Linked DNA regions of Homo sapiens: all the other regions are linked to region 1. Evidence: promoter capture Hi-C in human tissues and cell types (Jung and others, 2019). All regions are on one chromosome and are shown on one strand. The core of a region is centred on a gene start or on the middle of the fragment in contact, and the rest is flanking DNA. Distances in the headings are between cores, read along the strand shown.

The links. Contacts are between HindIII fragments. The study calls those that stand out against the background at their distance.
Region 2: a fragment that was not itself captured here is called in contact with the fragment with the promoter of KRT16 in region 1 in 3 of the 25 tissues and cell types used here (dorsolateral prefrontal cortex, mesenchymal stem cells and mesendoderm cells).
Region 3: a fragment that was not itself captured here is called in contact with the fragment with the promoter of KRT16 in region 1 in 3 of the 25 tissues and cell types used here (lymphoblastoid cells, stomach and thymus).
Region 4: a fragment that was not itself captured here is called in contact with the fragment with the promoter of KRT16 in region 1 in 5 of the 25 tissues and cell types used here (lymphoblastoid cells, mesenchymal stem cells, pancreas and 2 more).
Region 5: a fragment that was not itself captured here is called in contact with the fragment with the promoter of KRT16 in region 1 in 3 of the 25 tissues and cell types used here (lymphoblastoid cells, spleen and thymus).
Region 6: the fragment with the promoter of KRTAP1-1 here is called in contact with the fragment with the promoter of KRT16 in region 1 in 2 of the 25 tissues and cell types used here (lymphoblastoid cells and spleen).

What each region holds. Positions count from the first base shown.
Region 1 is chr17:41,611,517-41,614,988 of GRCh38, forward strand. KRT16 (keratin 16) reads right to left here and starts at 1,251. Exons shown (of 8, transcript NM_005557.4): 1 at 642-1,251; 2 at 123-205. The coding sequence starts at 1,172. RefSeq lists an enhancer at 2,282-2,830. The HindIII fragment of the contact is 12,932 bases long and covers 1-3,472 here.
Region 2 is chr17:40,759,407-40,762,878 of GRCh38, forward strand. No RefSeq gene overlaps it. Among named protein-coding and RNA genes, the nearest start is that of KRT25, 5.8 kb to the left of the region's middle. The HindIII fragment of the contact is 3,792 bases long and covers 1-3,472 here.
Region 3 is chr17:40,805,990-40,809,461 of GRCh38, forward strand. It overlaps LOC105371776 (a long non-coding RNA gene), which reads left to right. Exons shown (of 4, transcript XR_934753.2): 2 at 3,160-3,327. Among named protein-coding and RNA genes, the nearest start is that of KRT28, 7.8 kb to the left of the region's middle. The HindIII fragment of the contact is 4,460 bases long and covers 1-3,472 here.
Region 4 is chr17:40,949,149-40,952,620 of GRCh38, forward strand. The region is part of intron 1 of LOC107985072 (a long non-coding RNA gene); the gene reads left to right. Among named protein-coding and RNA genes, the nearest start is that of KRT23, 13 kb to the left of the region's middle. The HindIII fragment of the contact is 5,990 bases long and covers 1-3,472 here.
Region 5 is chr17:40,980,324-40,983,795 of GRCh38, forward strand. KRT40 (keratin 40) reads right to left here. Exons shown (of 7, transcript NM_001389244.1): 2 at 2,723-2,805; 3 at 1,984-2,140; 4 at 667-828; 5 at 462-587. It overlaps LOC107985072 (a long non-coding RNA gene), which reads left to right. Exons shown (of 4, transcript XR_001752886.2): 3 at 126-284; 4 at 2,005-3,472. Among named protein-coding and RNA genes, the nearest start is that of KRT40, 2.3 kb to the right of the region's middle. RefSeq lists an enhancer at 1-284. The HindIII fragment of the contact is 6,026 bases long and covers 1-3,472 here.
Region 6 is chr17:41,039,626-41,043,097 of GRCh38, forward strand. It overlaps KRTAP1-1 (keratin associated protein 1-1), which reads right to left and starts at 1,825. Exons shown (of 1, transcript NM_030967.3): 1 at 916-1,825. The coding sequence starts at 1,772. The coding sequence ends at 1,239. The HindIII fragment of the contact is 12,161 bases long and covers 1-3,472 here.

The sequences.
Region 1 (3,472 bases), core at 1-2,500:
TCAGGTCCTCAGGCTGCAGCCCTGAGGATTCTGAGGCTCGGGGTCTGCTGGCCCTGCTGGGTGGACCGCCCCACTCTTTGTCCCTTGCCCTCTGCCCCCAGCCCACCATGCTGGCTGCTCACTTGGTCCTGAAGTCATCGGCTGCCAGCCTGGCATTGTCAATCTGCAAAATGGGCTGCGCATTCTCAATGGTGGCCGCAATGATCTGGAGTGGGGATGGAGGACAGGAGCCCTGGTCAGCCAAGGACCTTACTACTTGAGCATGAAAGGCAGAAAGGGGCAAAAGGAACCGCCCCAAATCTGGAAGTCTTCTGGCTGGCAGGGCTGGCATGCCTTCTCCACCAGCTCAGGCTACGTAGGGATGCACTCCATCCCGATCACCCCCTTCCTGGGCCCAAGGCAGGGAAGCTGAACTTGCAGCTGAACCCTTGAAGGAAATAAGAGATTTAGGGTAACAGCCCCAGTCCGGGCACAGAGATACTGAAAAGGGACCCTCTGCTACCACTTCCCTGGGTGATCCTGGCCACTCCCCAAAGGTGCCCAGTCTCCCTGTTTGTAAAGTGTAATTGCTAAAAAGAGGTATCCCAAGGGCCACTGTAGCCCCAGCCTCTCTCAGTGCTCCATACACCAAAGTCACCCACCTTGTTCCTCAGGTCCTCGATGGTCTTGAAGTAGGGACTGTAGTCTTTGATCTCACTGGGCCGCTGCCTCTGGTACCAGTCACGGATCTTCACTTCCAGGTCGGCGTTGGCCTCCTCCAGAGCACGCACCTTGTCCAGGTAGGAGGCCAGGCGGTCATTGAGGTTCTGCATGGTCACCTTCTCACTGCCCACCAGAAGCCCATCACCACCAGCAAAACCACCACCAAAGCCAGCACCCAAGCCACCACCGAAGCCAGCACCAAGGCCACCACCATATCCTCCCCCGAAGCCACTACCAAAGCTGCTGCTGCTGCTGAAGCCACCGCCATAGCCGCCCCCCAGCCCGCAGGCTCCCCCAGAGGAGAAGCGAGAGGAGACAGACAGGCCGCCCCCGTAGGTGCTGGGGGCACGGCAGGACCCTCCGGCCAGGACGGAGGAGATGCGGCTGGAGCCGCCCCCGATGCCGCCTCCGATGCCGCAGGAGCCCTTCATGGAGCTGGAGGAGGTGAACTGGCGGCTGCAGGTGGTCATGGTGCCAAGGAGGGAGGTGAGCGAGTGAGCAGTTGGCTGAAAGAAGGAAAGGTGCTCAGGAAGGCTGAGAGCGTGCTGTGGCTGCCTCCAACCCCAGAGACCTTTATATGCAGCTGGGGAAGGCGGGGCCCTCCTAACTGCTGACTCCAGGTTCCCCTCTGGATTTCATCACTCCCGGTCCCGTCCAACTCCTCACTCTGGATTATTCAGCCCAGGATCAACTCTGCTGTGTGCCGGCTCAGAGTTCCCACCCAGCTTTGGGGGTGTGGGGCCGAGAGAAAAACACAGAAATGCGAGTTCGGTGGTGACTCAGGCTAGGCGGTGGGGAATCAGGCTCCCTTTCCTGGAGCCCTCGGGGCCAGTCGGGCCTTGGCACAGGTGGCTTTGTGGCAACTGCGTCCCCAGGCAGTGAGTCAGCCCTTCAGAAGAACTCCCTGCCCCACAGTGACAGCCTTGGCTGAAAGAGAGCTCAGTGATGCCATCCTGGGCTGTCTTGGGGAGCAGTTGTGGGGATCCCACATGTCCCACTCTGGGCAGGGGCAGAGTTCCTGTCTTCACTCTGCTTGCTGTGTGGCCTGAGGCTCCCCACCTCCCACCTCTGGGCCTGTTTCCCCTCAGTGACCAGGCTGGACTGGGTGACTGCAGAGTCCCTTCTGTTCTAAAAATCCTATAACTCTCTTTCCCCTCTTGGATCTAATTCCAGTTCCAGAGGCTGCCTTGAGCCCCCGGGATCTCCAGAAGTGTGTGCACCATACAAACAGCACTGGCCATGGAGCTAGACAGGCGGCACTGAGTCCCTGCTCTGCCCTTACCAACTGTACAGCACAGGCTGGTCCTATAGCCCCTTGGTCCTCAGTTTTCTCATCTGTAAAAGGGGATGACACACCACTAGCCACAAAGAAACATGCGCGAAGGACCCCACCGGCCCTTCCCCGAGGGCCAGCCCTGCCCCTCAGCCTCCCCATCCTGCCCCTCCAGCCACCTGCTCCTCACACTCACCTCTACACACTGGCACCATCCCGCACCCCTAAGCAGGGCCCTGCGCCCCCCACACTCCCAGCTGAAGAACACCACAGCCCCACACCTAGCTCTGCCACTCCTCTACCGCCCTCTCCTAATCACAGGCACCCCACCTGCAGGCTGGTGGGAGGGAGCCCCATCCTGCCACTACAGCCAGGTATGACCCCTGACCCCACCTGGGCCTCAGAGTCCCCCCCTACCCTGTAGAAACAGGACTAGCCGGGGATCCGTTCCCAGCAGTTCTCTCTCCTGTGTCCACAGATCCCAGGCTAGGCCTGGCAGCTCCATTCATCCAGCTGAGCTGGGGGAGAGCACTGGTTATGGGCCCACTCAGGCATGCATGGAGAGCCCAGTGTGTGCCATACAGTTCTGTGAGCGTAGAGATTCACTCAAAGTCACTCTGCTTTAAGCTGCAGAGCTGCAACTAGAACCCAGAACTCTGGCCCTCTCCAGGCTCCCACCATGCCTGCAGGCGGGGCCAGTATACCCAACTCTCACCCACCTCCCCACGATCACTGGCAGGAGGTCTGCCCATGGTGGGCATGGCCTTGGCCTGAGAGCCTGGTCCAGCACCGAGGACTGGAGGGAGGATGGAGGGGTCTGGGCACCAAGACGGGGCCTCCTCAGGGTGCTGTGGGGCATCCCTCGGTGCTGGCCACTGGCCTTGCTCTGCAGTGTCTCTGTTGAGGTGAGGAGCCCAGAGACAGCCTGCTTCTGCCTGAGCTCCACTGGGGCAGGCAATTCCTTGTCTCAGCAGAACCAGGGTTTTGTCACTGCTACATCTCCCCTGGTCATTCATCCCAGAGGTAAGAGCAGAACGGATGCACATCCCTTCAGAGTCAAACCTGGGAGAGGGAACCTGACACTCCTCACCCCTACCCCAAAAAGGGGCAAAGGGGACCCCGGAATCTTGGACAAAAACCTCAGTGTTCAGGTGTCAGGTTGGGCCTGGAGTTCTGGTCCATCCACAGACCCATCACCCTCAGAACTGAAAATGGTCTTCAAGGTCACCAAAGGCTATTAATACCCCAACTGGAGAGAGCGAAAGCCTTATCCAGGTTAAGCAGCACAAAAGTGAGAGAGCAGAGACTCGAGCCAGCTCTAACTCCCAAGCCAGGATTCACACCGACTCTCGTAGTAGAGTCTCTGAGAACTCTTCACTCTCTGCCCCCATCGTGTGTGCATGCACACACACCCCTTTCTCATTGGCTCACTGCCCCCCACCAAGTTCCCCATTCCAGGAGGTGTCAGGGCGGGATTATACACAAGCCCAGCACTGC
Region 2 (3,472 bases), core at 480-2,979, 850 kb before region 1:
TTTCCATCCCTTCACTTTTAGTCTATGTGTGTCCTTAAAGCTGAAGTGAGTCTCTTGTAGACAGCATACAGATTTTGTGTATGTGTGTGTGTGTGTTTGCCTTTTTAGTACCCTTAGCTATTCTGTGTCATTTGATTGGAGAATGTAATCCATTTATATTCAAGGTAATTATTGATAGGTAAGGACTTACTACTGCCATTTTGTTGTTTTCCAGTTGTTTCGTAGATCCTTTGTTTCTTTTTTCCTTTCTTGCTGTCTGCCTTTGTGATTTGACAACTTTCTCTAGTGGCATGCTTTGATTCCTTTCTCTTTCTCTTTTGTGTATCTACTATAGAATTTTGCTTTGTGGTTATCATGAGACTTACACTGAACATGTTAGAACAGGTTATTTTAGGCTGATAACTTCAACTGCATTCAAAAACTTTACAGTTTTACTACCCCTCCATCTATTTTTTTGATGTCACAATTTATATCTCTTTATATTGTGTATTCCTTAACAAATTATTGTACTTATAATTAGTTTTAATAGTTTGGTCTTTTAACCTTTATACCAGATATAAGTGATGTGTACACCACCATTACAGTAGTATATTCTGAATTTGTATATTTACCTTTAACAGTGAGTTTTTTTAACTTTCATATGTTTTCATGTTGCTAATTAGAGTTCCTTTGTTTCAACTAATTGACCTATCTTTATCATTTCTTGTAAGGGAGGCAATGAACTCCCTCAGCTTTTGTTTGGGGATATCTCCTTAATTTATGAAGCCCAGACTTTTCTGGGTATGATATTCTTGGTTGGCAGGTTTTTTTCTTTCAGCACTTTGAATATATTATCCTACTGTCCTGACTTGCAAGGTTTCTGTTGAGAAGTCTGTTGATAGCCTCATGGGGGTTCCCTTGTATGTAATCAGTCTCTTATCTTTTGCTGCTTTCAAGATTCTCTCTGTCTTTTGGCAATTTTTAAAAAATTTTACTTTAAGTTCTGGGATACATGTGCAGAATGTGCAGGTTTGTTACATAGGTATATATGTGCCATGGTGGTTTGCTGCACCTATCAACCTGCCATCTAGGTTTTAAGCCCCACATGCATTAATGTGCCTCAGAGTGTTTGTCTTTGGGTTGATCTTGCTTGGGATCCTTTGAATTTCGTGAATCTGTATGTCCATATCCCTCTCAAGATTTGGGATGTATTTCTTTACATAAGCTTTCTTTCCTTTTCTCTCTTTCCTCCTTCTGAAATCCTCATAATGTATATATTTGTATGCTTGGTGGGATAGACTAGATCCTGTATGCCTTCTTTACTCTTTTTTATTATTTAAACATTTTTGTTCCTCTAATTCAGTAATTTAAAATGCCCTTTCTTTGAGTTTGCTAATTCTTTCTTCTGCATGATAGAGTCTGCTGTTGAAGCTTTCTATTGAATTTTTCAGTTTTGTCATTGTATTCTTCAGGTCTAGGATTTCTGGTTTTATTTTTATGGTTTCTATTTTAAAAATTAAGCTTCTCATCTTGTTTATGCATTGTTTTCCTAATTTCATTTAGTTATTTATCTATGTCTTTTTGCATCTTATTGAGCTTCTTTAAGATGATTATTTTGAATTTTCTTTCAGGCAATTTGTAGATCTCCCTTTCTTTGGGGTCAGTTACTGGAGCCTTATTAGTTTCCTTTGGTGGTGTCATGCTTGCCTTATTCTTCATTATTCATGTAGTCTTGCATTGGTATCTGTGCATTTGAAGGCACAAATACCTCCTTCATTTTTTTTTTTTGAGACAGGATCTTACTCTGTCACCCAGGCTGGAGTGCAGTGGCGTGATCTCAGCTCACTGCAATCTCTGGCTCCCAGGCTCAAGTGATCCTTCCACCTCAGCCTCCTGAGTAACTGGAATGACAGGCATATGCCACCATACTCAGCTAATTTTTATATGTTTTGTGGAGATGGGGTTTTGCCATATTGCCCAGGCTGGTCTTGAACTCCTGAGCTCAAGCCATCCACCCGCCTCAGCCTCCCAAAGTGCTGGGATTACAGGTGAAAGCCACCACACCTGGCCCTCTTTAAATCTTTATAGACTGCTTTTGGCAGTTTAAGGCCTTCTTCTATTAGGTTCCTGTGGTGATGGGATTGTGGTCAAATGAGGTTGGAGCTGGATCACATGGCTATTGCTGAGTCCACAGTGGGGTCTATAGTTGATAGGTCTGTTACCAGGGGCTGTAGTAGCTGTGGATTCTGTGTAGTCTCTGGGTTGACTGGACTGTCTGTAGAACCTTGGTCCATAGAGCTGGCACTGGGATGAGAGTCCATTTCAAGATCTGTAGATGATGGGCCATTACCAGGTGTGTGAGTGGGTGTGGCTTCTTCTGTGTCTCTGGAAAGTCTCCCAGTGGATCACTAAGTGAGACCCTGGGTATGTAGTGCTGCTCAAGTCCATGGCTGAGACAAGTTAGAACTGAGTTTTGGGGCTGCTTTAGAGCCTGTAACTGAGACTGAGCTCTTCAGACCTGTCTTTGGGGTCACAGAAGGGTATGTTTTCTGGTGGGTCCCCGGGCAGGCAGGCTTGCTCTCAGACCACAGTTGATAGAGGCTGGTGCTGAATTACAGGGCCATTTCAAGATCCACAGCAGGACCAAGATCAGTGGGTCAGGCTATAGGAGCACTGATGAGCATGTCTGTCTCCAGGTCTTGTGTGCGCAGCACTACTCTCAAGCCTCAGCTGAGAGGGGCTGGGACTGCTTTTCAGGGCCATTTCAGGATCTTCTGTGGGACCCAGGTCAGCTGGGCTGCCTGTGGAGCTCAGATGAGAGTGCCTCCCTCTGGATTCCTGGGCAGTTAGAACTTCTCTCTGACCACAGCTGAGAAGGGCTAGGGCCCAGATTCAGGTTTGTTTTAGGGATGCTGTAAAATTGAGATTGGCAAGCCTGCCCTGGGGACACAGAATGGTGTGTCTCCCAGCAGATCCCTGACGAGGCAGAAGTGCTTAGTCTGCAGCTGAGAGGGGCTGGGGTTGAAATTTAGAGCTATTTAGGGATCTGTTGTGGGACCAAGATTGGCAAGCCTGCCCTGAAGACTCAGATGGACATGTCTCCCTCTGGGTCCCTGTGGAAGCAGGACTAATCTCATGCTGTAGCTGACAGGGGCAGGGGATGAGTTAGAGGATATTTTTAGGATGCATAGCTGAGACAGAGGTTGGTGGGCCTGTCTTCTGATGTACTAGTGTGCATAATTCCTCTTTGACAAATGTTTTTGGTAGCAGGACCAAGAGAAAATGGGGTTGTAGCCAAGCTTGCAAGGATATGGGGCAGTTTCTAGGTCTGGGGATGGGACCATGATCAGTAAGTGCCAACTGGGTGTGGGTCTGTCCTGTAAAAATGAAACTCCTAGGTCTTGGGCTCTACCAGAGCTTTATAAACTCCTACCTGAATCCCAAGGCTCCTACAAAGGCACTTTTGCCTGTTGATGACTATTATGAAATTATT
Region 3 (3,472 bases), core at 31-2,530, 810 kb before region 1:
ATTCGGGAGATGAGATAGGAGGATTTCTCGAGCCCAGCAGGTAGAGGCTGCAGTGAGCTGTGGCAACAGAGTGAGACTTTACCTCAAAAACAAATAACAGCAACAACAACAAAGAAATAAAGATTCTGTAGAGATATCACATGGATCACAGTTTTGAAGTTGGGTACCTCAGTGTAGTATTTGTAACTACGCCCCCAGTTGTTCTATAATGCTCTTCCCAACCTTTTGAAATATTTAATTTCTACCATCCACCAAGGCTCAGTTCAAGAGCCACATCTTCTAGCAAACCTTCCCTGACATTCCATTCTGATTTGGATGTCACGGTGCCTTGTCCATGGTCCTTAGCCCCCGACATGTACATTTTCTATGGCATGTATCACAGGGAATGGCTATGTCTTAACTTATTATCTCCATGGCCTAGCACATTGCCTGCCTCAATGATATTTGTTGAATGAATGAATGAATGTATCCCACCCACTGAATTAAAGTCTCAGGGACTCCAAATCCCTACCCTCCTCCTGGCAAGGTGCTGGGGATGATTGTTCTGAAAAGAGCTGGTGCACCAAGCCCTTGATGTAGTTCAGCAGCTTCATCCGTTGTCGGACACAGCTGTTTCTGCTACACCATTCCTCTGCTCTGTTCATGGTGGTGAGGGGTTTTTTTTGCACCAGCATTTGCAGCTTTTATGAAGCTCCCATAGGTAACTGTTTATTTCAGCCCTTCTCTTGGTTCCTGAGAAAGAGGGGAACAAATAGCACCAGTGAGTGAATTGGAAAGCATTTGAGTGACACTACCCAGATTTGCACCTAGAAGTGTCGTCACTGGTTATGATCCAGTGTCTCAAGCCCCTAAATTACCCGCTGTGGGGGAAGTTGCTATTATTGGGGGCAGTCTTTAACGGAGTTTAGGTGTTTACCATGAAGAAAGTCATGAAGATGGAGAGCTAGAAAAGTTCCTAGCACTTGGGAGAGCCTGGATGGCATGAATTATTTTTTCCATTTTTTTAAACCCCAGCATCCCTGGATTTGCCTTGGGAGGTCTTGTAGTCCATGGACTCACTTGTAGGTGACTCACTGATTTTGTCACTGGCTTAACCAATATTTATTGAGCCTCAGCTTGTGTGTTGAGAATTGTGCTAGGTGTGGGTTTACAGCTACCTATGAGTAAGGCAGACAGACCTAACCTTGCTGAGATTAAAATCTAATTTACAAAAGGACTACCCAAGGTGTTACCAGGGACATGCTGACAAGATTTTTTCCTACGCTCTGTCGTCCAGGCTAGGGTACAGTGGCACAATCTCGGCTGACTGCAACCTCCACCTCCTAGGTTCAAGGGATTCTCATGCCTCATCCTCCTGAGTAGTTGGGGTTACAGGCACATGCCACCACGCCTGGCTAAATTTTGTGTTTTTTAGTAGAGATGGGGTTTCACCATGTTGCCCAGGCTGGTCTTGAACTCCTCCCCTCATGTGATCTGCTCACCTTGGCCTCCCAAAGTGCTGGGATTACAGGCGTGAGCCACTGTATCTGGCCGCTGTAGAGATTCTTGATACACCAGGAATGAAAGCCTAGTCCTCAATCTCTGTGCAAGGGGTACTGCTGCTGAGGGCATATTTTGGAAGTGTGTGTGTCTATGTGTGAATGTGTACACATGTGGTCATCATAATGATAGGGGTTGTTGCTGGCATTTGGGGTCGGGGAGGGATGCCAGACATAATGAAATGCATGATACAGTCCTGGACATCAAGGAATTGTCCTGTGTTCCACATGACTTTTGAACCATGAGCTATTCATGAAAGTGAAAAACCTGTTTATAATTACCTGAATCTGGAAACGAGTTCTAAGTTATGTAAAAACACAAAGTTTTTTTTTGTGTGTGTGCAAAGTTGTAACTGAATTTTTTTAGGAATGTAATTGCTGTATAAATCAAGGAAGATTGTACTTAAGCTTATTTTGCCCAGAATTTGATCAAGGGTTGTTTAAAAAATCCCATCACCAACAACATTGCTGCTCATTGTATTTAAGTCAGTGATGTGCCCACGTTTATCAGTCTCTCTTCATTTGTACCTTTTTGCATTCTCGCTGGTTTTGCATATAGATGCAATCATTTGACTACTTCATTACATCTTCTGGTACAATCATACTCGAACATTTCCATATTGAAATGCAAATAATTTTATTACAAGTTATCTTTCCTTCTGTTTTTCTTTTACATCTATCATTAACCTTTCTACACACTATAGATTATAATCATAGATAATATAAACTTCCCATGCATAGTTTCTTTATCTTCTTTTCTTTTTTTTTCTTTGAGACGGAGTCTTGCTCTTGTTGCCCAGACTGGAGTGCAATGGTGTGCTCTCAGCTCAGTGAAACCTCCGCCTCCCGGGTTCAAGCAATTCTCCTGCCTCAGCCTCCTGAGTAGCTGGGATTACAGGCATGTGCCACCACACCTGGCTAATTTTTATATTTTTGGTGGAGATGGGGTTTCACCATGTTGGCCAGGCTGGTCTCAAACTCCTGACCTCATGGTCTGCCCGCCTCAGCCTCCCAAAGTGCTGGGATTACAGGTGTGAGCCACCATGCCCGGCCAGTTTCTATATATGATATATAAAAATGTATATATGAAACACAGAAGTGATAAGTATATGTTTTGTACATGTGATATTTATAGTACCCACCCCTGCTCCTCCTCCGTATACTAGGATAAACTGTGTGTTGGAAGGATATATTACCTATGAATTTCATTTCTCAATAGTAAAGGGGGTGAATCAAAATATTTGCTATAAAAAAGGAATGTAAGTCAGAACTACTGGCAAAATATAGGAAGGAGCAGGGCTAAGCACTACAGAGCACTGGTCTCCAAGTAAAGTATGTACTTTTAGGAGATGCAGGCAACCCACTGGGTGGGAGGAAGAGGGTGTCAGAACTTCTATTTAAGTTTTTGTATTAGAAAGTAAGAATTAAACTAAACTCATATTTAATATAAGAATGACATTGGCATTCTGATTTTATCTTTATGTCAATCTCTCTTCTCAATCAGCTCAAAAGATATTCTGAGAAAAGAATGTTCACCCCACAATGTAGAGAAGTGGATAGTGACATCTTCATTTGCTTGCAATGCACTGTGACATTGCAGTTTATGTCCATTGTATTTCAGGATTGTATTGCTGCTTTTAATGGAGCGAATCCCCCCTCCCCACCAGAAACAGCAAAGAAACAGCAACTGGAAGATAACAGAATCATGAAAGCATGATTGAAGAACAAAAAAATGGGACAGCTGACACTTCCACTTCTGTTAAGAGTTCTTTGCCAGCCACATTATTGGGTAAAATATAATACAATAATCATCATAATGGTGGTATTATATTCCACAAGAAATCAGCTGATAAAATTTGGAGTTCTCAAAAAGATTATTTAAAATAAGGATTTGGGTCTACAGTCTTTATGCTAAATACATGTTGTGCATTGAG
Region 4 (3,472 bases), core at 321-2,820, 660 kb before region 1:
GTGGACAAGCCCAGGAATGTGAGCAGCCTCTGAAAGCTGGAAAAGTTTGGCAATAAAACAAATCCCCCCCAGGACCTCCAACACTTTGATTTTAGTACACTGAGTCCCAAGTCAGATTTCTGAAATAGAGAACAGTAAGATAGTACATTCGTGTTTTGTGTTATTTTGAGCCATGAAATGCATGTCACTTTGTTACAGTGGCAGTAGAACATCGTAGTGTCTGTGTGTTTGTGGGGGAAACATCCAGTAGGAACTCTGGTGATGGATTTTTGCTGAAGATTTGCCAGGTCTGTCCTGCAGACCCTGGCCGAGCGTCGGATGAAGGGAGTACTGACAACACAGGCGTGCAGTGTAAGAGCAGCTAGGGGTCTGCCGGCACTTAGGGCCAAAGAAGAGAGCAGCTGCGAACAGCTGAAGCTGCTTGCTTTTATTCAGTACAGACATAATGCCGAAAGCCTGGAGCAAACACAATCTGCGGGTAATTAACATTATTGTTCCCCTTTTCAGGGAGCAGTCATGTGCACAGATTATCAAAGGTCGGTTTCTGGACAACCTAAGTAAACAAGCCTGTTTACGATAAATTCCCCTACACCTCCTTGTACCTACTCCTTGCCCTCTGCCTCAGGATCAGAGAACAGCTGCCTTCAGCTTATTCTCCCCTGAAGCTATGCAGAGCCTTCTGAACTTTCAGAAGGTTTGCATCCTTTCCCTATAGTTTCTCCCACCACTCTGACCAATCTCCTACAAAGATTAAATCAAGGTGAATAGAATGTGTTTTCCATGTGATTTATAAAACATATTTTCCATACACATACTTAGTCTAGATCTTTAATTATTAGCGTAACAGCAAAGATGGTTATAGTTACTATATTTCATAAACCCTAAAAAGGCAAATTATAGGTGGATTTTTAAATTTTCAAATTAATATATATGATATACCTCAGAAAATTATAGAATTTAAATCACATTTAATTAAACATTTTACAAATAATTTTTACGGAGAAGCATAAAATTACATAAAAGGAAGGCTGTTCCTGAAGATCCACGGCACGTGGGAACCATCATTAGGGCAAATGTGAATATGTGTCTTTTATTTACAACCAAAGCCTATTTCCCTCCTGATCTCACCCTTTGTCCACAGCTCGTCTTTCATCCTTAATTATTATTTACTACATAGTCTTTGTGTCATTACTACAAAGAGACGGTGCTGTAACTGGGACGCTGGACACGGTCCCTGCAATCTTAGTCCCACTGTACATTCTGTTCCATGTAAGTGAGCTCCAAATGACCTCTTGGTTCTTCTTACTCTGCAGCCACAAAAACATATCCATTTTGCTCCTTTCTCTTTCTTATTTTGTCTATTTCTCCCAGTGCCTCTCCTGAATACACTAATATAGCATCTTCTGTTTTTTTCTGAACCCAACACGTTTGATTTCATTTCTGATTACCATCCCTCTAATTATAATTTGTAGCCTTTCTTAAAAGGGACCCTGTGGGGGTGGGGGGGGGCAGTGGGTGTGGTTGCTCACACCTGTAATCCCAGCACTTTGGGAGGCCAAGGCAGGTGGATCATCTGAGGTCAGGAGTTCGAGACCAGCCTGACCAACGTGGAGAAACTCTGTCTCTACTAAAAAAAAAAAAAAAAACCACAATTGTCTGGGCATGGTGGCGCATGCCTGTAATCCTAGCTACTTGGGAGGCCAAGGCAGGAGAATCACTTGAACCCAGGAGGTGGAGGTTGCGGTGAGCCGAGATCGTGCCATTGCACTCCAGCCTGGGCAACACGAGCAAAACTCTGTCTCAAAAAAAAAAAAAGAAAAAAAATGGAATCCTGGGGGTGGACTTTGGATATTTCATCCTATCAGCCTTGTGTCCTGTTACTCTTGGGATGGGTCAAAACCAGGAAGTCCCCTGCAGCTTTGGCAGCCCACAATTGCTGATGAAGCCACAAATTGTTGGAAACATGAATATCCGGCATTCATTGTTTTGAGCCTATGCTCGCCATGAATATGAACTAGTTAGAAATGAGACCTACACTTTCCCAATGCTTCTCCATTCAAGACCTCTTGGCTTTATATCTAGTAGAGCAGGGCTATACTGTGCCAATCTTCTAGCAATAAACTTCACACAAATCCAACAGCCTAATTGTTGTGGTTAGAATGAGAAGAGATGAAGATGCTGTTGAGTTAGGTCATCTGGTCTCCAAAGCAGAACTTCACAAGGTGATACTTTCTTGTGAAGTCACAGTGGTCTATGTCTGTTCTTAGGCTGGTGGGTTATTAGTGCACCAGAACCAAAGGGATTCTCAGGAGCTGACTCAGAGTAACCTGACTTTTAAGTGCCAGATGAAAGAGACAGAATGCAAACTTATTAATTTAACATTGAAAGATGATCCATTTTGCAACCACAGAGTTCCCAACTGCAAATCAATGCACCTTCTTTGTTGTACCTAAGAATTAGAGAAACCAAATTGTAATATGAAGGCTTTTGTCAAAAATGGAACTAGAAGAGGGATATGGGGTCTTGAGGAATGAGGTTGAAAAACTGCCTCAAGTCCACACGTGCTTAGATGGTGTTCATGAGTTCAGTGTTGCCCCTTCCTGGATTGGGCTGGACACTGTTGTGTTGTGTTTTTAGGGCTCACTTTCTCTTTTTAAAATATTTTCTTAACCACTTGAACCACCAGGGATATGGCTCACCTTCTTTAGACCTCCAAGACAAGCATTATTTCTTTAATTCTTTATAGCTTTCATTAGGCTACATGTATGACATTTTCAAACTTGAGTAATTATTTAATTGATTGGGCATTTGGAATAGAGGATTTGAGTTTGTTCAGATTTTGACTTTAACATTTACTAGCTGTGACACTGAGCAAATTACTTAACTTCTGTAAGCCTTAGTTCACTTGTTAGTAATGTGGTAATAACCATAGTATGGTAGGGCCATTGTGAGAATTGAGTGAGATAATTCATGTAAAGCATGTAGCACAATGTCTAGAGGCATAATATTTAATCAGTTTTTAATTGAATGAAAGAAGCATTACTCTTTCTACTTTTTGGCCCTAGGAGACACTGTGGCTTCTGTGCATCTGTGATTACTTTTATTATGTGTTGGCGGTGGAGAAGCCTTCCAGCTGTTTTCTCCATTGACACCATAACCTGACTCCAGGAAACATCAGGGCCACAAGAGACAAGGGTAACAGATATTGTACTAGGAGAAGGGCCATCAGTCCTCTCTGAATTGCCCTGTCATTTCAGTTGTCCACAAAAGTGATCCTGTTACAGGGATGACTTCAAACTGTTCTCCCTTCTCCTCCAGGGCTATCTTCTTCCTACTGGCCGCAAAGATTGTGAAGGTTGATACATGATGGAGAGGTCCTTTACAACTGAGCTCCCTAACATTCTGGAAAACAGAAGAGTTGGACCTTTATGTGGTTTTTACTTTGGGTCAGGTGTGACTCAGCTTTCTTTTA
Region 5 (3,472 bases), core at 973-3,472, 630 kb before region 1:
ATGTCATCTTGAACGCATGGTGTTCCTGTTGCTTGAGTGGGGGGTGGTGCAGTGAAGGATAAGGTTGAAGTGTAGATCCTGGGAAACTGTAGGATGAAATGTTTGAAAATGATTCTTTGTTTTAGATATAACAGTGAGCCTGGAAAACTGGCCTGAATCAAATGAGAATTAAAACCTGCCAGAATGCTTAAGCGACCATGGCCCGGAGGTTTCTCTCCAGCTCTGCTTCTCCCTCCCTGTCTCTGGAGGCTGCTGCAGCATCAGACTCAAGCCCAGGAGTGAAGGTAAGGCATCTTAGAGGACAAGCTGTGGACCTGTCACTTCTGCTTCTATTAATAGCTGGGTAAACGGCAGTACTCGGGAAAGGCAAGGAAATGTGATCCTCGGATATGGAAGAGGGCTTAACATCTCAGGGCCTGACTTATCAGTGACACAACGGACACTGCCTTTGCCTCACGCACCAGGCTTTGCTGTGCTTGGAGCTCAATTTCCAGAGCACTGGCTGTGCGTTTCAGTTCCAAGATCTCCATCTGGCAGCCCTGCAGCTGCTCCGCGCTGGACAGTTGCTGCTGATTCAGCTCTTCTGTCTGAAACACAGACACCATTAGAGAATTCAAAAAAGGCAGAAGTCTGTAAGCCTGACATTTTTTCAATCTGGGTACTGACCTGAACAGCCAACCATTCTTCAGCTTCTCTGCGATTGTTGGCAAGCACCGTTTCACACTGACAGCGCATCTCATCCAGGACCCTGTTGAGGTCAAGGGTGGGGGCAGTGTCCAGCTCCACACTGAGGCGGTCGCCAAGCTGTTCACGAAGCAAGTTGACTTCCTGAAAGTGGGATGGTGTAAAGAATGTCACAGAATGGTGGGGAAAAATCCATTTGACATCCAATGGCATTCTACTTCTGTTTTTTGGAGCAGTGGGTAAAAGTGTGAGATTTTGATTCAGATTGCCTGGGCTGAATCTCTTTTCACCACTTAGAAGGGCCTCAGTTTCTTCGTCTGTAAAATGGACATAATAATTGGACATTTTTCCAGAAAGTTATTGTGAGATCTAGAAGAGTCAATCTACACATAATTAACTTATAAAAGTTAATTATGACACATAGTAAGGTGTCAATAAATGTTAGCTATGATTGTCATCAACAAACGTTCAAAGAGCAAATGTACTTTGTTACATCATTCAGCTTTTCATTTTCTAGCTTTATCAATATATCAGTGGCTGTATATTTTATGATTTTTAGAAGTTTATAAATGCGGAATATTTAAAAACACTGGTCCAGATAGTGCACAGTCTTTATCCCTTTTTTGAAATGGACTTCACAGTCTGTTCCTCAGCCTGATTTTCATACCCTGTGGACTGGAGCTAGGGGTGGCATAAAGCCTCCAAAGGAAGCCATTTGTGAAGTTACCTCCTCCACAAAGGCAAGGGCAGGAGAAGAGTTTGATTCCTTCCTCTGGCGCTGTCTAGGGGTTATTTCACACCTTAAATCAGAGACACACTGGAATGATCAGGTTGAATAGTAATAATGCCTCGAGTAGTTTTTGTTTGTTTGTTTGTTTGTTTGTTTTTTGAGATGGAGTCTCGCCCTGTCACCCAGGCTGGAGTGCAGTGGTAAGATCTCGGCTCACTGCAACCTCCGCCTCCTGAGTTCAAGTGATTCTCCTGCCTCAGCCTCCCGAGTAGCTAGGACTACAGGCGCCTGCCACCATGCCCAGCTAATTTTTGTATTTTTAGTAGAGATGAGGTTTCATCATATTGGTCAGGCTGGTCTCGAACTCCTGACCTTGTGATCCTCCTGCCTCAGCCTCCCAAAGTGCTTGGATTACAGGTGTGAGCCACCATGCCTGGCCCTGCCTCAAGTAGTTTTATTCCAGCTTAAACAACATCTGCCCAAATTCGATTTACAAACATCAACAGATCATCTGTCAATGTAAGTACGTTACTCTCGGAGTCCTTCAGCGGAGTTGCCACTTTCCTTACCTCTTCATGGTTTTTCTTAAGGCAAAGGAGATCTTCCTTCAGAGACTCCACATGGGCCTCCAGATCAGATTTGCACAGGGTCAGTTCCTCCAGGATCCCATGCAGGCTGCTGATGTCAGCCTCTAACAGCTGGCGAAGGGACAGTTCACTCTCGTACCTTTCACAGCAAAAGAGAAATCCAACGCTTACTTTGCTGAACGCTGTGCAAAGTGTGGGGATACATGGAGGATCGACACACGGACTTCAGGAAGCCATGTGCATAATTTCTCTTAATTCCTAAGTAATGATAAATTCAAGCTTTTAAAACATTCTTAACTTTAAAATATTATATAGAGAATATTTGTGTGTGTGTGTGTGTGTGAGAGAGAGAGATTGAGAGAGAGAGAGCCATAAGTTATTTTCAAATTAAAATTAAAGCCGGGCGTGGTGGCTCATGCCTGTAATCCCAGCACTTTGGGAGGCCAAGGCGGGCAGATCACCTGAGGTCAGGAGTTCGAGACCAACCTGGCCCACATGGTGAAACCCTGTCTCTACTAAAAATACAAAAATTAGCTAGGTGTGGCGGTGCACGCCTGCCTGTAATCCCGGCTACTCAGGAGGCTGAGGCAGGAGAACCACTTGAACCCAGGAGGCAGAGGTTGCAGTGAGCTGAGATAGCACCATTGAGCTCTAGCCTGGGTGACAAGAGTGAAACTCCATCTCAAAATAAATAAATAAAATAAAATTAAATTAAACTTACTTTGACTTAAAGTCATCAGTGGCCAGTTTGCAGTTGTCAAGCTGTACAGCAAGTCTAGAATTCTCTGCTTTCGTGCATAAGATCTGGGAAGCAAGTCATTATGTGATAAATGATTCTTTGAGAGAAACCTAAGTAAACTTCTATCCAACAGCTATGCCATTAGCTATCTTTTGAAAGTCTTTATAAGAAAGTATAAAATCACCCTCAGCCTGCTTTTTTTTATTAACCTTGTCACTTCATGAAGAAAAAAAGCAGAGCCAATTTAGAAACAAAATAATGAAATAAAAAGGTTTAGTTTTTTAATAACATAAGACATTTTGCAACATTCTCAGGCAGTTGAACACCATTAATGTTTTCTCCATCAGTAGTTTGTATTATGAGTATATCCTCTCCCATAATAATAGAAATTCATGGAGAGAAGAAAATGATTACTAGGTAGTTAAAAAGATGGCATTTCATGATCTGTGTTCAGATAATGTAAATGTTCAGTGTCACGTACAAAAGCGATTTTGGATATAATACAGTTTTTCTGCATTCTATAGATGATGAAGGAAAAGTCTACAGGCAAGTTACTTTATTATAGTCACTCAGTAATCAGGGGTAGCTCTGGGGCTGATGCTGAGGTTTTCTGACTTTCAGTCCGGTGCTCTCCCCTATGTATCACTAACTCTTAGAATTTTCCTTTCCCTTGGTTTCCTTCTGTAAAACAGCCCCTTCTAGTAGAAAGATAAAGCAAACCATAGATCAGGA
Region 6 (3,472 bases), core at 575-3,074, 570 kb before region 1:
CAAACTCTGTGGGTTTTTTTTTTTTTTTTTTTTTGAACATTTTACGGGGACTTCAGTGGATGGGCATGATGGACAACCATTAGAAACGTGATTGGACAAAAAGAGTATGATCTAATGTTAGTAGAGTGAGTGATGAAACCTGTCTGTCAGATCCTTCTTGGTCTCTCTATGCAGCCTTCCTTCCTCCAGGGCATGGGGCAGAACCTCTTCTGAAATGGGGATCTTATGACCTACAATCAGGCAAGGTAGGTAGGAGAATATCTTGATGGCCAGTGCCAAGAACAGTGGGGGAAGATTCTTGCCTTGAGGAGTAAAAGGAGCAGGTGAAAAGAGGTGGGGAGAAGGCCAGAGAGAGAGAGAGAGCAAGAGCAAGTGAGTGAGCGAGAGCGAGAGAGAGAGAGATTCTGTTTTCTGAGGCCTGCTTCTGAAGTGTAAAGTGCCCTAACATCAATAAAAGGGCTATGGGAGTTATGAGCCTAGACCTTGAATGAAATGTGTATATTCGTTACATGCTATTACTCTGTAATCTTGTGTTTGTATTCTTTCACAATTTTTATTATGCTTTTGTATATCTTGGAGGACAGAAATAATTGTATACAACCTCATATATGAATGGATGAATGAATAGATTTGGCAAAACCTCAAGAAGCTGAATCAATCTGTTGGAATACCTAGCCCACCACTTTGCACATGAGAGGACCTTAGGAAACAGTTCCTAAATGTTGTCAAGTTCCTTTAATCATATGTCTTGGCTGCAAAATATTGGACCATTTAATGGTAAAACAAAGGAAAATTGCTGTTAAATATCATCATTAAAAGAGCAAAAGTACAGAAAAACCATAGTGTCATGTCATGTTGATATTTTGAAAAATCCCAGTACCCCAATATTGTTAATAAATTCCAAAGCAAAGAAAGTTCAAACAACAACTTCATCATTGAAGAGATGAAAACTTTTATTAAATTTAAGTCCCAATAACTGTTGAAATATTTCAGGTGATATTTATAGTAAAATAGTATCTAACTCTTTTCACATTGTAGGACTTTGGCTGACAACCAGGTCTAGGAAAAATTTTTGGTCTTCCATTGTAAATGAATTTACTTCCTAGGGAATTTATGTGGCTGTGTGATGAGAGGTTGCAAGCCCAGTTATAGGTACTGGAGTTCAGAAGATTGTTAGGATTCTAATTTGGCTAGTTTTAAGGTGCCATCTTATCAGGATCCCCAGCAGAAGGAGGTTTTCAACAAGTGGGCTCAGAGCAGTAGCAGCAGCAGACTGGGCGGCAACAGGACTGTCCACAGTAGGATGGGCGGCAGCAGGAGGCCTCGGCGTGGTGCAGCTGGCAGCAGGATGGGGGTGTGCAGCTCACCACGCAGCAGGGGGGCAGGCAGGTACCCTCCACACGGCAGTCTGGGCGGCACCACCTGATACGGGTGCTCACAGCTCCACTGCTGCCCTCCTGGCCATAGCCAATGCCACCACCAATGCCACAGCCAGTTCCGCAGGAGCTGGTCTGGTAGCAGCTTGGCTGGCAGCAGCTAGTTTCACAGCAGCTTGGCTGGCAGCAGCTAGAGTCACAAGTCCCACCGGTTGAGAAGCTAGGAAATCCACAGAAGCTGGTCTGGCAGCAGCTTGGCTGGCAGCAGCTGGTCTCACAGCAGCGTGGCTGGCAGGAGCTGGTCTCACAGCAGCTTGGCTGGCAGCAGCTGGAGCCGCAGGTCCCACTGGTGGAGCAGCTGGGAAATCCACAGAAGCTGGTCTGACAGCAGGCCATGGTGTCAGGAGTTGATCTGAAGGTTGGGTTGCTTGGAGGAGTTTCTGAATTATGGCTGCCTATTCCACTGCCGGCTTTTTATAAGTCTGGGCCAATTCCTCTATTTGTGGCGAGCAACATTTTTATCTTGTTACTCTTTAAACCAGCCTTTCTAGGGCCCTCTGATGGTTCAAATGCTGAATTGTTTTAAATATATCTCAAAATTGATTTTTCCTTATTGCTCAGCTAATACTCACCAAATGTGTTTGTCCTTGGTAAAAATGTTAACATTTTGTTTACAAACAATGGTATAATTTCCACTTGAGCTTCAGCTTCAGGTTTGCACTTGTGGGTATATCACCTGACAAAGTGACTCTCACCCATAAGGTGATGTGATTTTGGAGATCATATTCACCAAACCTCAGGTCTCCAGAAAAGAATTATTAATCATGATTGCCCTTATGTAAGACTGCTTTGTATTTTTTAGACTAATAAGATTATCCTCTCTCGATATAATCTTATTAGCCAGATAGAAACTCTGATAAACTCTATATTCATAGAAATTCATAGATTTTTCCCTGAAATGGAATCTTTCCAATTTCTGTGATATCTCCTGAACTTCACATTCATATTTTAGGAAACATTGATCACTCAGGAGGATATATAAAACAAAACCTGTTCAATTTCAATGTCTCTTAAAAAAGAGGCTAAAATTCATATTCAGTAATTGGAAAAAATTGCAAAATATTTTAACAAAATTTACACTTCTCTATGAAAGACAAAAATCACTTGTATATGGATTATCTGGCATATAATTTTTCAAAGGCAGAATTTAATTTTAATTTATGTCATTTCAAGTTACTAAACCATGTGTCCTGTGAAAAGATATTAGACCAAAGAGCATGACAACTGAATTTAGGAAAGGGAATAAATCAAAGAAAAAGCAAGAGTTAGAAAATACTTTTATCTGCTTTATAAGGCAGGTTAGAAAATGGGTGACCAAATATAGTTCAAGAGGTGTAGTATAATAAATGCAAAGAGATTAAGAAAAATTTCAGCAAAATAAAAGTTAAAACAATTCCTGGTCATTGCCAGAAGAAAGAATGTAATTTTCACTGGGAGTTTAGGGTTACGTGAGATAAATGAAAAAAGGCTGGTCAAAAACATATTATTTCTACTTGGGGTAGGTTTATTTCTCCCTTCCAATCATGAATAGAAACACATAGTTAGCTTTTTATGAGGTGGTGGCATTTGTTTGTACAGGAATGGGGTTATATCACAATGTGATTCATGCCAGCTTCAGTAAAGATGTTCACGTCATATGGTAACCATGACTGTAGGTATGAAGTTGAAAATGGTTATATGTAATCAATGAATGTTGGAGATCAAAAATGTAGTAAATTATCTTGTTCCACCACTTAATTTTATAGGTGTAGAAACTGACATCATTCTTATTATAAATAGCACATATTTATTAACTTCTACTATGCCCAGAGCACTAAAGGCTTATACAGAAAGCAAGATCCCATCTATTTGTTTTGTATCTTGCTCTAGTATAAAAATCAGTGTAGTAGCAATAGGAGGGATTAATCAAGGAAAAGAGTTGAGTATAGAACCATTTAGTCTCAAAGTTCTAAATGGGAACATTGGTGATGTGCTATGGAGCACTTTTCATTTTCACTTAACATCGGCTGATGTTAGAATACTCTTGAGTCTTGAAG